Linked DNA regions of Homo sapiens: all the other regions are linked to region 3. The links are contacts of gene promoters, found by promoter capture Hi-C in blood cells and fetal thymus (Javierre and others, 2016). All regions are on one chromosome and are shown on one strand. Each heading gives the region's core, a stretch centred on a gene start or on the middle of the fragment in contact. The rest is flanking DNA. Distances are from core to core; before and after follow the strand shown.

Evidence for each region. Contacts are between HindIII fragments. The CHiCAGO score rates a contact against its expected background, and 5 or more counts as called.
Region 1: a contact is called between a fragment that was not itself captured here and the fragment with the promoter of CFAP77 in region 3, in 1 of 17 cell types (total CD8 T cells). The highest score is 5.5, in total CD8 T cells.
Region 2: the fragment with the promoter of AK8 here is called in contact with the fragment with the promoter of CFAP77 in region 3 in 10 of 17 cell types (activated CD4 T cells, endothelial precursors, naive CD8 T cells and 7 more); the score reaches 7.7 in activated CD4 T cells.

What each region holds. Positions count from the first base shown.
Region 1 is chr9:132,781,513-132,785,209 of GRCh38, reverse strand. The region is part of intron 11 of AK8 (adenylate kinase 8); the gene reads left to right. Among named protein-coding and RNA genes, the nearest start is that of AK8, 95 kb to the left of the region's middle. The HindIII fragment of the contact is 3,884 bases long and covers 250-3,697 here.
Region 2 is chr9:132,876,797-132,881,014 of GRCh38, reverse strand. It overlaps AK8 (adenylate kinase 8), which reads left to right and starts at 2,731. Exons shown (of 13, transcript NM_152572.3): 1 at 2,731-2,843. The coding sequence starts at 2,760. It overlaps SPACA9 (sperm acrosome associated 9), which reads right to left and starts at 2,117. Exons shown (of 4, transcript NM_001316897.2): 1 at 2,001-2,117. The HindIII fragment of the contact is 5,580 bases long and covers 1-3,937 here.
Region 3 is chr9:132,408,934-132,412,685 of GRCh38, reverse strand. CFAP77 (cilia and flagella associated protein 77) reads right to left here and starts at 2,475. Exons shown (of 6, transcript NM_001282957.2): 1 at 2,220-2,475. The coding sequence starts at 2,414. It overlaps LOC105376304 (a long non-coding RNA gene), which reads right to left and starts at 2,045. Exons shown (of 3, transcript XR_930405.2): 1 at 955-2,045. RefSeq lists a silencer at 1,318-1,367. The HindIII fragment of the contact is 3,866 bases long and covers 540-3,752 here.

The DNA.
Region 1 (3,697 bases), core at 942-3,441, 370 kb before region 3:
CTGCTTGAACCCGGGAGGCAGAGGTTGCAGTGAGCCGAGAGCACGCCACTGCATTCCAGCCTGGGCGACAGAGCAAGACTCCATCTAAAAAAAAAAAAAAAAAAAGAGTATCCCACATGTACTGCCTCCTCATCCCCCTTCTCCAGCCATTCTCCATTTTGGGGGAGCCAGGGACAGACATATCCTGAAATTTTTCTGTGCCAGTCTATTATACACAGATTATTGTTTTTAATCAGTATTGATTAAGCTTTTCTTTCTAGAAATATAACAATTATATTCTGTTTTTAACTATAATTACTATACTTACAAAGTTTTTATTCTCTTTAAAACTGGATTAAGATTTCAACACCAGTTGTTTATATATTTCAACCTCTTCATTTATTAATTTTGATTTTATCTTTCATTTGAATGGATTATGTCTTTGATTCATTTTCAGCTAGGGTACATAGATACTAAACTTCCTGAATTTTTGCATACTTGAGAATGTCTTTCTGTTATTTTTACTTGTAAACAACATCTGGCAAAGAATTCTTTGATCATGTTTCTTTCTTTCTCTCCCCAAGCTCCTCCCCCGCCCTCAGTGTTCCAAATCCCTTCTGCACAGCCTCTGACATCTTGCCAGATGTGTTTCTCTTTCCTTCTCTTTCTTTCTTTCTCTCTTCCTTCCTTCCCTCCTTCCTTTTCTTTCTTTCTTTCTTGATGGAGTCTCACTCTGTCATCCAGGCCGGAATGGCGCAATCTCAGCTCCCTGCAACCTTCCCCTCCTGACTTCAAGCGATTCTCCTGCCTCAGCCTCCTGAGTAGCTGGGATTACAGATGTGTGCCACCATGCACAGCTACTTTTTGTATTTTTAGTAGAGACAGGGTTTCACCATGTTGGCCAGGCTGGTCTTGAACTCCTGACCTCAGGTGATCCACCCCCTCAACCTCCCAAAGTGCTGGGATTACAGGCATGAGCCACTGCGCCCGGCCTATGGATGTGTTTCTTTTGCCTGGGTGTTCGGGAGATCTCTCTGTCTCTCTGCCTCTGTCTGTGTCCCCTACCCCCTTCTCTTTCTCTTTAAGTTCATTTACAATCACCAGGCCATAGCTCAGTCTTGGTTCTCCTTATTACTTTTCTCTGGACATTAGGAACCCTTTCACTTACAGTATTTCAGGATGATTTTCTTCCAGTAGATATATTAATATTTTTCTGGTTCATTTGCTTGGTTTTCTTCTTCAGTAAGACCAATTATGTGTGTGTTAGATATTTATCATCAGCTTTTCATAATTCGGATTTTCTGCTGGTGGCTTTTACCTTACTCTTTTTGGTATTATTTTCTCCACTCTGACCTTCATGGTAACTGACTGTTTTCTGCTGTGTTTATTTCTTGCTGTTTTTCATTTGTTTTTTTGTTTCCATAATGCTTTTACTTTTCCCCTTAGGCATTTTTCCTTCATTTTGTGAGCTTTCTTTGCATCTCCTTTTTAAAAATCTCATCATCTTTTCTTTCACTTCCTATATCATGGAGTCCATTCTCTTTAAATTATTTAGAACATTCTGGTAAGGTTTTATCTAAAATGTTCTTATGTTTCCTGGAGTAATTCATTTTCTAACAGGTATTCATTGTCTCTCTCTCTTTTTTTTTTTTTTTAACTTTTATGCCCCTTTCCTTCCATTTTTTGGTAGCACCTATAACTGGGTCCCAAGATGGATATATTCTGTAAATCCTTTACCTTTGAATAGGCTGGTTGTTTGTCTAAGAATAGTGTGAGTTGGCATATTAGTTACCTATATTGCCATCATAAATTACCACTGACTTGGTGGCTTAAAACAACACAAATTTATTGTCTTCAAATTCTGTAGTTCTAAAAATCATGGCACTGCCAGGGCTGCATTCCTTCCTGGAGGCTCTAGGGCAAAATCCGTTTCCTTGCCTCTTCCACCTTCTAGAGGCTTCCACATTCCTTGGCTCACAACCCCTCCCACCATCTTCAGAGGCCGTAGTGCAACTCCCATCCTTCCTCTGTACTCATGTCTCCCTGAGACCAGCGCCGGGAAAGGGTCTCAGATTTTAAGGAGCCATGTGATTAGATTGGGCCTACCCAGATAACCTGAGATAATCTTACCATATCAACACAGTCCTTAACTTAATCCAATCTGCAAAGTTCCTTGTTCCTGGTAAGATAACCTATTCACAGAATCTGGGAATTAAGAGGTGAACATCTTGGAGTTGGGGGCAGGCATTATTCTGCCTTTCCCAAAGTTAGAATCTCCTCAACTCTGAATTATATCCCTAGAGTTTGGGCTACAGAGCTTCCCATTGGAAGACTGAAACCTGTTTAGGCCCAGGGCAGCGGGGATCTGATAGTGTTAACCTGAGCATCCTGTTTTACTGCCGTTATTCCTGTGAAATTCCAGGGACCAAAGTACCCAAAGGCTAAGTGTCCACCCTCTGTTCTTCCTAACATAGTTAATGCCACAGACGTGGTTAATGTCACAGCATCAGTTGCATAGCTTCTGTTTTTGTTTTTTTTTTTGAGACGGAATTTCGCTCTTGTTGCCCAGGCTGGAGTGCAATGGCACGATCTTGGCTCACTACAACCTCCGCCTTCCGGATTCAAGTGATTCTCCTGCCTCAGCCTCCCAAGTAGCTAGGATTACAGGCGCGTGCCACCATGCCCAGCTAATTTTGTATTTTTAGTAGAGACGGGGTTTCACCATGTTGGTCAGGCTGGTGTCAAACTCCTGACCTCAGGTGATCCACCCGCCCTGGGCTCCCAAAGTGTTGGGATTACAGGCGTGAGCCACTGCTCCCAGCCTGCATAGCTTCTTTGTGAGCGCATCAGCTATGTGAAGATGAAACGCACTGGGGAAAATGCAGAACAATCACTTTAAAGAAGGCAGGGGCAGGGTGTCATTAACAGGTCAGGGGAGAGAATCCTGTGCTGGTTTTCTGAAGCCTGGGGGGAAAAATGACTGTTTTACTTACCGAGCCCAAGCACCAGTACTACAGGACCAACACAGGGAGGAAAAGCACACAGGAGGAATATTCAAGAACCGATTTGATTTAGGGCAGGGTTGCAAGGAAACACTCTTCCGTTCACCACGGAGTGAAAATCACGTTCTAAAGACTTAGTAAAGAATGCCAATTTAATTTATTTGACCCTAGGGCGAAGGACAGGCAGGAACAAAAAATCTTGATTTACAATGTAGATTTAATCATATGCTGCTGTTGATCATCCTTTCGTAGTCATTGAAGGTATATTTTCCTTCCTCCTTTCTCATCTCTGTCTCTTCCATCTCCAGCACCTTAGCTTTCAGTTAAACATTTTTATGATTAACTCAGAAAGTAATCTTAGCCGTAAACCTTCAAGTTCAGATACAGGCTAAGAAAGAGAGAAATATTCTAAAATGAATCCACCTAGCACCAGGATGACTATCAGGACTGTAATTCTGGTTCGGTTGTGATGCCAATTATAAAACACTCTAGCTGTGGTGTTGCTGTTTTTGACACCAGGAGGAAATCTTGACAGAATTATAGCCTAGAAATCAATCTGGGAATACGATACAGAAATCTATAATTCAGATATGAAAATCTACAAAGGCTCTTTTTTTAAGGAAGGTTCAATGAAATTAGATTAAAATAAATTTACATATATATCAATTTTATTATTAAAATATATTCACACTAGTAAATAGAGTTATCGGGGAAGG
Region 2 (4,218 bases), core at 1,482-3,981, 470 kb before region 3:
GTCTGTAATAAAAATACAAAAAAAGTTAGCCGGGCACGGTGGCGGGCGCCTGTAGTCCCAGCTACTCGGGAGGCTGAGGCAGGAGAATGGCGTGAACCTGGGAGGCGGAGCTTGCAGTGAGCCGAGATGGCGCCACTGCACTCCAGCCTGGGCGACAGAGCAAGACTCCATCTCAAAAAAAAAAAAAAAAAAGATAGCTGCACCTTGCCATACTGAGGCCTGAGGCAAAAGGAGAAATCAGTAACACTGAGCCTACCTTTACTTAAATTTTTGACATGTTATTCTAAATGGATTTTAGGCAGCATTATTTTTGATTTTTAAAATATATTGCATTAAAACGTGAAAAACATCCACCTCAATGATTGAATTGCCGGCACTCCCTTAAGTTTTGTGCTGAGGGTGCATCACTTGCCTTGCCCTAATGTTGGCCCAGGGCTTACAAATGACTCAAAGGTGAAGCTCCAGAAAAGTGAGAGAGAGCACATAGGTGGAGTTCCAGGGAGAAAGGGCGTGTGCCCTTTCGGCCTGGCTTTTCCCTCATCATGGTGGGAGCTGTGGTTGGTAGTGGTTGAGAGGAACTGACTCTGTTCTTGATCCTAGCAACTTGTGACATGCACGCCAGGAATGTCATGAGAGGAGCTGTAATAAGCTATCCGAAGTGATCGTCCCTTGAACGAGAGCCACTGCAGCCAAATTAGTGTGGATGAAGGGCACAGGGGACGGGCACTTCTCGATCTGGGGGAGGAGGGAGGAAAAAAATGATTACCCATAGGTTTTAGGCTTTAATTGATTTGTATTTTTCCAGGCTGCTAAAGAAGATTGAATCATGGTAGGAAAAGCGCCTAGGGCTTAAAATAAATGAGGAGAAAGGCAAGTCATTTCAGAAATGTCCAGGAAGCAAAACAAACCTCTCCAGTGCAAATGGCAGGCATGGCTGTTGTGTTCTTTGCTCAGGGGGAGGCAGCTTCCTTTTCTTCCCCAGCTATCTTTACAGTTGGGTTTGACAAGCCTACCAAGGTGTACACACTTTGAGGAAGCGGTTTGGAGGGGAAGAGGCAACAGTGCTGGCTTTTACGTTGGGAGGGCATGTCTCTGGGCTGATGGCTGGTAGAAAAGGGCTTTAGCTGGAGCCTGGATGCAGAGTTCATGCCCTGGCTCTGCCCAATCTAACCAGTGGCCCTAGCCAAGATTTCCCCCTTTTCTGGGCCTCAGTTTATCCATCTGTCAAATGAGAGAGTTTGGATTAGCCTCTTCTTCAAGAGGCCTTCTGGTTCTAAGGCTGTATGATCAACAACTGATGAGAAAAGAAGCCCAGAAAGGGGAAGTGACTCACCCAAAGTTACCCAGCCAACCACTCCTCATTGTTCTAATCCTCCAACTTCTCATCTGTAAAATGGGAATGAAGGTGCCTATTTCACAGGATTGTTGGAACGATTAAATGAGATACTACTACTAATAGTAGCCCCATATATTGTGTGCTTACTGCATGCCAATTACTCTCCAATACATTAGCTCCTGAAATCCTTCAGCAGTTCCCTCTTCACAGGGCAGGAAAGTGAGGCACGGAGCAAGCAGAGAGTTTGCCAAGCTCACACAGTAAGAAGCGGAGCCAGAACTTGAAGCTGGGGCTGTCTGCATTGACTGTGCCATTTTCCCTCTCCATAAGGTACAGAGACAACAGAATTTTGCCGAGAGCACAAAGAGTTCAACAAACTCTTACAGCTCCTACGATTAACGGCAACAGACAAGAGCTAGAGATCCCAATTCAGTGTTGCGACTAATAAAATATCAAGCTGCCCCGTACCACTGGGAATTCATACGACTTAAAAAGCTCCGTCTCCAGCGCGAACCTTCCCCTCGCCCCCACCCCGAGACAGCTGTGCAGGCCCCTCCATCCTCCGGACCCCTCCATCTTTCCATCCTCCACCCCAGCTTCCAGTTTCTGACCCAGAGGCCGGGGTGGGGTCCGAGTGGGCCCACCCACACTCATCCCTGTTTACCCTTGCTTGTCCTAGAGCGCTCTTCGCTCCACGGAGCACCCAGAGAAGTTGGAGTGACTCCGTGAGTGTCGGTGCCCCGGAGGGTGGGGAGGCCCGTTCCAGGACTTGGGAGGCGAGGGTGGGTGGGGACGTCGGGCGAGAAGGGGCGGGGCCGCGGGCGTGATTGTTACCGCCGGTGCCATAGCAATCGGGTCACTTGGCGGCTTGGCCAGAGCCGGGGAGCTGGGAGGGGTCTACCGGGGCTCGACTCTAGGAGTTGGGCTGAGGATTTCCACCCGATCCTCGAACCTCCGGCCCATCTCATGGACGCCCCTCCCCCTTCAAACACCCTCCCCCACATTTATTCCCGCGTCTGTTTTAAAGATGGGTAAACTGAGGCACAGGGAGCCGGGCCGGGGAGCACTGACAGAACCAGAAGCAGGTTCTGCCTCCCGTCCCCTCGGAGGGCCGACTTGCCCCTTCTGGGTTTCGTCGGGGGTCTCAGATACGAGGAGGCCCAGCTGGAAGCCACCTGAGGGTGTCCCCCGCTAAGATGCGCAAATGGGAAAAGCGAGGCCGGGGTTGGGGAAAGAACTTGCCCGAGCCGCAGAGCGCGTCAGCCGGGGAGGTCGGGGCGGGGGCGACCCGCGCGACCGAGGATCGGGTATCTGGGCCCGGCGCGGAGCCTGCAGGGCGGGGCCGCGGCGCGTGCTGATGACGCAGTCGGCGCGGCGGCCCTAGCGACGCGGTTACTAGGGAGCGGCGAGCCGAGACGGCTACATGGACGCCACTATCGCCCCGCACCGTATCCCCCCCGAGATGCCCCAGTACGGGGAGGAGAACCACATCTTCGAGTTGATGCAGGTGACCGGACACCCCTGCCCGTCGCGACGCTGGCGGCGGCTCGGGAGCCTCCACTGCGACGTCGGGTGCGCGGCCGGGACCCGCAGCTGGGGCCGAGTCGCGCGCCCACGAAGCAGCCCAACTCGGGATGTACGATTCGTGTGTCGCCGTGACCCCGAGGGGGCCCTCGAGCTGGGGACGCTCCTGGTCCTGCCCGGGTTTGCCTCAGGCGGACCCAGGGGGAGGAAGGGGGCCACTCGAGCCGGGATTTGGTCCTGGCTGTGCCGCCAGCGGGCCTTATGGTCTGGAACCAGTCCTTTCCTTTTCTCGGTTTCCCCACCTGTGAAATGCCAGGTTGCAAGAGGTGGTCTCCCAGGGGCTCTCCCGGCGCTGACAATTACCATCTGTCGAATTTGTGGGGAGCCTCTCGGCCCAGGTTTCTGAGGTGGGCATTGTCCGAGTTCAAGCTGGCATCTCCATCCTCAGAGAGGGCCGCCTCTGGGACAGCAGCATCTCCCACCTTGGTCCCTCCTCCTCAGGGCCAGACGTCCCCGGCAGCTCCGAAGCTCTCATTCTGGCTCCAGGCCTGACTGGGCCCCCAGCTCACCGTGTGACTTTGGGCGAGGCCCCGTCCCCGCCAGGGCCCCAGTTTTCCCTTTTGCACGTGGTGGAGGTCAAGGCTTTCAGGAGCTGGAGGGGAAGAACTCTCAGCCACTCAAAGGTTCTGAGAGGCAAGGGGAAGCTGGAGCTCAGTTTTCAGATCATTTGTCTGCTTCCCAGGGTACACCCCATCCCCAGGGGCATGGCATGGAGGGCATAGTGGTGTCTGTGGTCATTTGAGGTTCTGCCCTGCACACTAGACAGCTGAGCCCAGACGAAGAAACCCGTGTCTGCACCTCCATCAAACACATTTCCCTCGGAAAGTGTTAACTGATAGAGGGAGAGCAAGAGATTCCTAAAACTGCTTGAGTGGCCAATCACAAATCAAATAGCTAGCTGGGTTAGAAGTCAGCAGGTCAGGGCAGGATGGGGGATCATCTGGAGCCCTGTTGTCTGCTCTAGAGAACCTGGTGTGTTTTCCACATTGATTGTTGGAGGAATTGCCCAGGAAAGCTTTTATTGATTTTGAAACAGGGTCTTGCACTGCTGCCCAGGCTGGAGTGCAGTGATACAATCATGGCTTACTGCAGCCTTGAACTCCTGGGCTCAAGCAATCCTTCTGCCTTAGTCCCTCCAGAGTAGCCGAGACTACAGGTGCAGGCCACCATACCTGGCTAATGTTTTTTTTTTAATTTTAGTACAGACGAGGTCTTGCTATGTTGCCCGGACTGGTCTTGAACTCCTGGGCTCAAACAGTCCTTCTGCCTCGGCCTCCCAACAAGAAAGCTTTCAGTCC
Region 3 (3,752 bases), core at 1,226-3,725:
AACGAAGCTGCAAACCCAATCTCTGCCAAAACCTTGAGCAAAACAAACAAACAAACAAAAAAAAAAAAGCACAAAACAAACAAACAAAAAAACCCAAAAAAAACAACAGAGGTGGCTTCAGTGTGCTCATTTGCAAAAAGGGTCCAGAAAAGATAACAGTCAAGGTTCCCTTTTGCGGTCAATTTCTCTGCCAACTTTTATTTATGTCAGGTTTTGACCTCTAAAGTTATAAGATATTCTAATATTATATATGGTAAATACTGAAAAGTGGACGTCATCTTAACTGCTCCAGAAAGTACCTTAAAGACCCCGAAGAACCCACGAAGGAAAGCCAGAGGTAAAGGCTGCCCCCTGGCTGTCCCTGGTGGAAGAAGAGAACCCCAGGCTCCATCATCAGAGAGCACGAGCCTGGACGTGGGTCCCTGCTGCTCCAGCATGGTCACCAGGGGCCAGGGCAGACCTGCTCTGCATCTCGTGCCCTGAAGACAGAACCCCAGTCGTGGGTGAGTCACCTCCTGTACATTTTCCGACCCTAAGCTTGGGTTCAGAAATCAGGGATTGAATTGGTCCTAGAAGCTGTTTAGCTAGTGCCATCCAGAGGCCAAATGTTGTCCTCGATATAGCTGGGTGGGGCGGGGGAAGCAAAAGGAAAAAGGAAAAGAAGGGGGAAATTTACATATATGTACATACATTTTACACATATGTACATGTATATTATACATATGCATACATGTATATATGATAGATGTAAACGGTATGTTATATGGGTGCATACACAAATGCATATGCATGTATGTGTGTGTGTGTGTGTGTGTGTGTGTGTGTACATATTGCTCAGCGTGGGCACCACACACTAACTCACCATGGAGAATAACTCCATACGCCCTCACTTTACACTTCAGTAGGAAGAAGTTGGCTCACTACTAACTACTTGAACAAAAGCAACGACCTAACCTTAATGCAGGTAGTCAGAGGTGGCGGACGTGATTCTCTCCTTCATCCAAGAATAATGGGCCCCACCTGCCTGTCCTGCCTGTCCACTCAGAGTGGCTCTTCTCACGTAGAAGTAAGTGAAGGACCTTGTTCCACTTTGAGAGGCCTAAGAAAGGAGCCTATTCGATGGAAAGGCACGAGTGTGGGAAGCCAGCCTCCCCCAGGTGCAGCCTGCGCCTAGGCAGTATCCTTCCTCCTCTCAGGACCGAGTTTAGGGAAGGCAAGAGGAGGGAGTCAATGTTTTGCCAGGAGCCAATTAACTCAGTTAATTCTAGCACGGGTTCCCTTTTCCCCAAAACAAAAACAAACCGCCACCACCACCTCTGGGCTCTACTCAGCGCCTGGCGGTCACACAAATAATTGTTGTTGAATCCACGGTTACCACCTGCGCCTTCCACTCCCGCACCTGGGACGCGGGGCGCATTTTTAAAGGCGCACTGCCCTCCAGCGGCGCAAGATAAATTCGCCTCGAGGCTTGCTCCCTGACCCCCAAGCCTCAGCCTGACTTCTCCAGTGGCCCCCGGGAAGGTGTGGCCGCCACAGCAGTGTTGGTTTCCCATCAGCGGGAAGCGAGGCTAAAGGTGGGGAGGAGGGAAGTGTAATGGAAGGGAAAGTGATCCAGCCCGAAACCGCAGCTCCCTCATTCTTGTCTGCGGAGCCTCCTAGGCCAAAGATTATGCTTTTTTTCTCTTAGGGTTGTAATTTGGGTAAGAAATTAGTATGATCGAACGGAAATGAACATTCGACGTGATGCTTCCAGGACAGACACGGAGCCACCGCTGCATAGACGTACCCCAGGCGTGCAGCGGAACCGGAGAGGCGGCCTTTACCCTGGGAGGGCTGGCAGCCACGACTTAGACTGGGCGTGTGCGACCTATCTGTCACCCTGTGGGTTCACTCTGTGGGAAACCACAGCAGCACCCATTGCAGCCTTACCCCATGTCAGGCGCTGTCCCGAGGTCCCGCAGAAATTACCCTATTCAATCTTCCCAATCAGTCCCTTTAGTGGTGCCATTATCATCCCACTGTGAGGATGGGGAAACCGAGGCTGAGAGAGGCGACGCGACCTGCATGGGGGTCCAGGCCTGTCTGGACCAGAGCTGGAGCTTCCCACGCTGCGCTCGGACCCCGGGCCGCGGGGCCAGGGCGCTGCGGGTGGGGACCCCCGGCGGCGCAGGTGCCCGGAGCCGGCGACAGCGAAAGCGCGGTGGGCGTGGGGTGCTCACCTTGACGATGAGAGGGTTCTGAAACATGGAGTCCCGCACGACCCCCAGCCGCTCGTTCTCCATGCCGGAACGGATGTCCGCCACGGTCAGGGGCCGCCGCGGGGGCGGGCAGACCTGGCTGACCGTGCGGCGCACAGGCTGCTGCTGCTTCCTCCATCGCGTGAGGTCCGGGCCGGAGCTCCTGGCCTCTGGCATCCTTGAGGTCGCCGGGGAGCCGGCCCGCGGGCTGGTTTGGGCGCGCTTCCCCACGTCGGGCACAGCCTGGAGCTCCGAAGGGCCTGCCGGGCGGCCCGGGCCGCACCACCGGGATCCTGAGGGGGAAACTCAGATGCCAGGACCCCTCCGGAGCCAGGCGCGCCCCGCTCGCGCCGGCCCCTCATCGCAAAGAGCCCCGGAGCAATGCAGGAGCCCCGCGGGATCCTCAGGGCGTCTCCTGGGCCCCGCGTTGCAGACTGGGAGAGGAAAGAAAACCAAGACCACCCCTGGAGGACGAATGCAACGGCCCGTCTCCTTGGCGACGGGACGCCAACAGAGCCCGGCTCGGCTTGTACTTTTCTTTCAAGAAACTCTTGGTGGCTACCAGTGTGGACTTGTTTGGAGTTTTCCTGAATCGATACAGGAGAACCGAGAATCTCCAGTGGGTTGCGTTCAAAGCGGCGTGGCTCATAGAGGGTCATTTACATTTGTCTTCCAAGTCGAAGACTCCATCCTCTGCTCACCCCCATTCCACTCACAACCCCTCCCCACCTCTGCTCTTTGCGCCACACACACACCTGAGACAGAGCACTAAATGCATTCCAAGCCTGATGCTGATGCTGACCCACTGGGAGGACTCGGGCAAGTCACCCTCTTGGATCCTAAGGGCTTTTTTTCTTTTTTTCCTGTGAGATGGGTGACAAGGAAACGCTAGAGTTGGATTACATCAATGGTTCCCAAATTTAAGCAACAGAATGAAGGGAAATTGAAAAATACAGATTTGGGCTGGGCTTGGCTGCTCACCCATGTAATCCCATTGCTTTGGGAAGCCTAGGAGGGAGGATGGCCTGAGCCCAGGAGTTTGAGACCAGCATGGGCAACATGGTGAGGTCTCATCTCTACCAAAAATTAAAAAAATTACCCAGGTGTGCTGGCACACACCTGTGGTCCCAGCTATGGGGGAGGCTGAGGCAGGAGGATCACTTGAGGAGGTTGAGACTACAATGAGCCGTGTTTCGGCAACTACATTCCAGTCTGGATGACAGAATGAGACCATGTGCCAAAAAAAGAAAAACGAAGATTCACAGGACTCACCCCAGACTCACTAAATCAGAATATCTGGAAATGGCATCTGAGGCTCTCCTTTTTTTTTTTTTTTTAAGAGACGGAGTCTTGCTCTGATAATGACATGAGCCACCTCACCAGGCCAGATGCTGCATTTTTAAAAATCCCCTTACCCACCCACCCACAACTTGGTGAAAAAGTTCAAACCTACAGAAAAGTTGAAAGTCGAAAGAAGAATACAATGAAAATACATATAGGCTTCACCTAGATTCG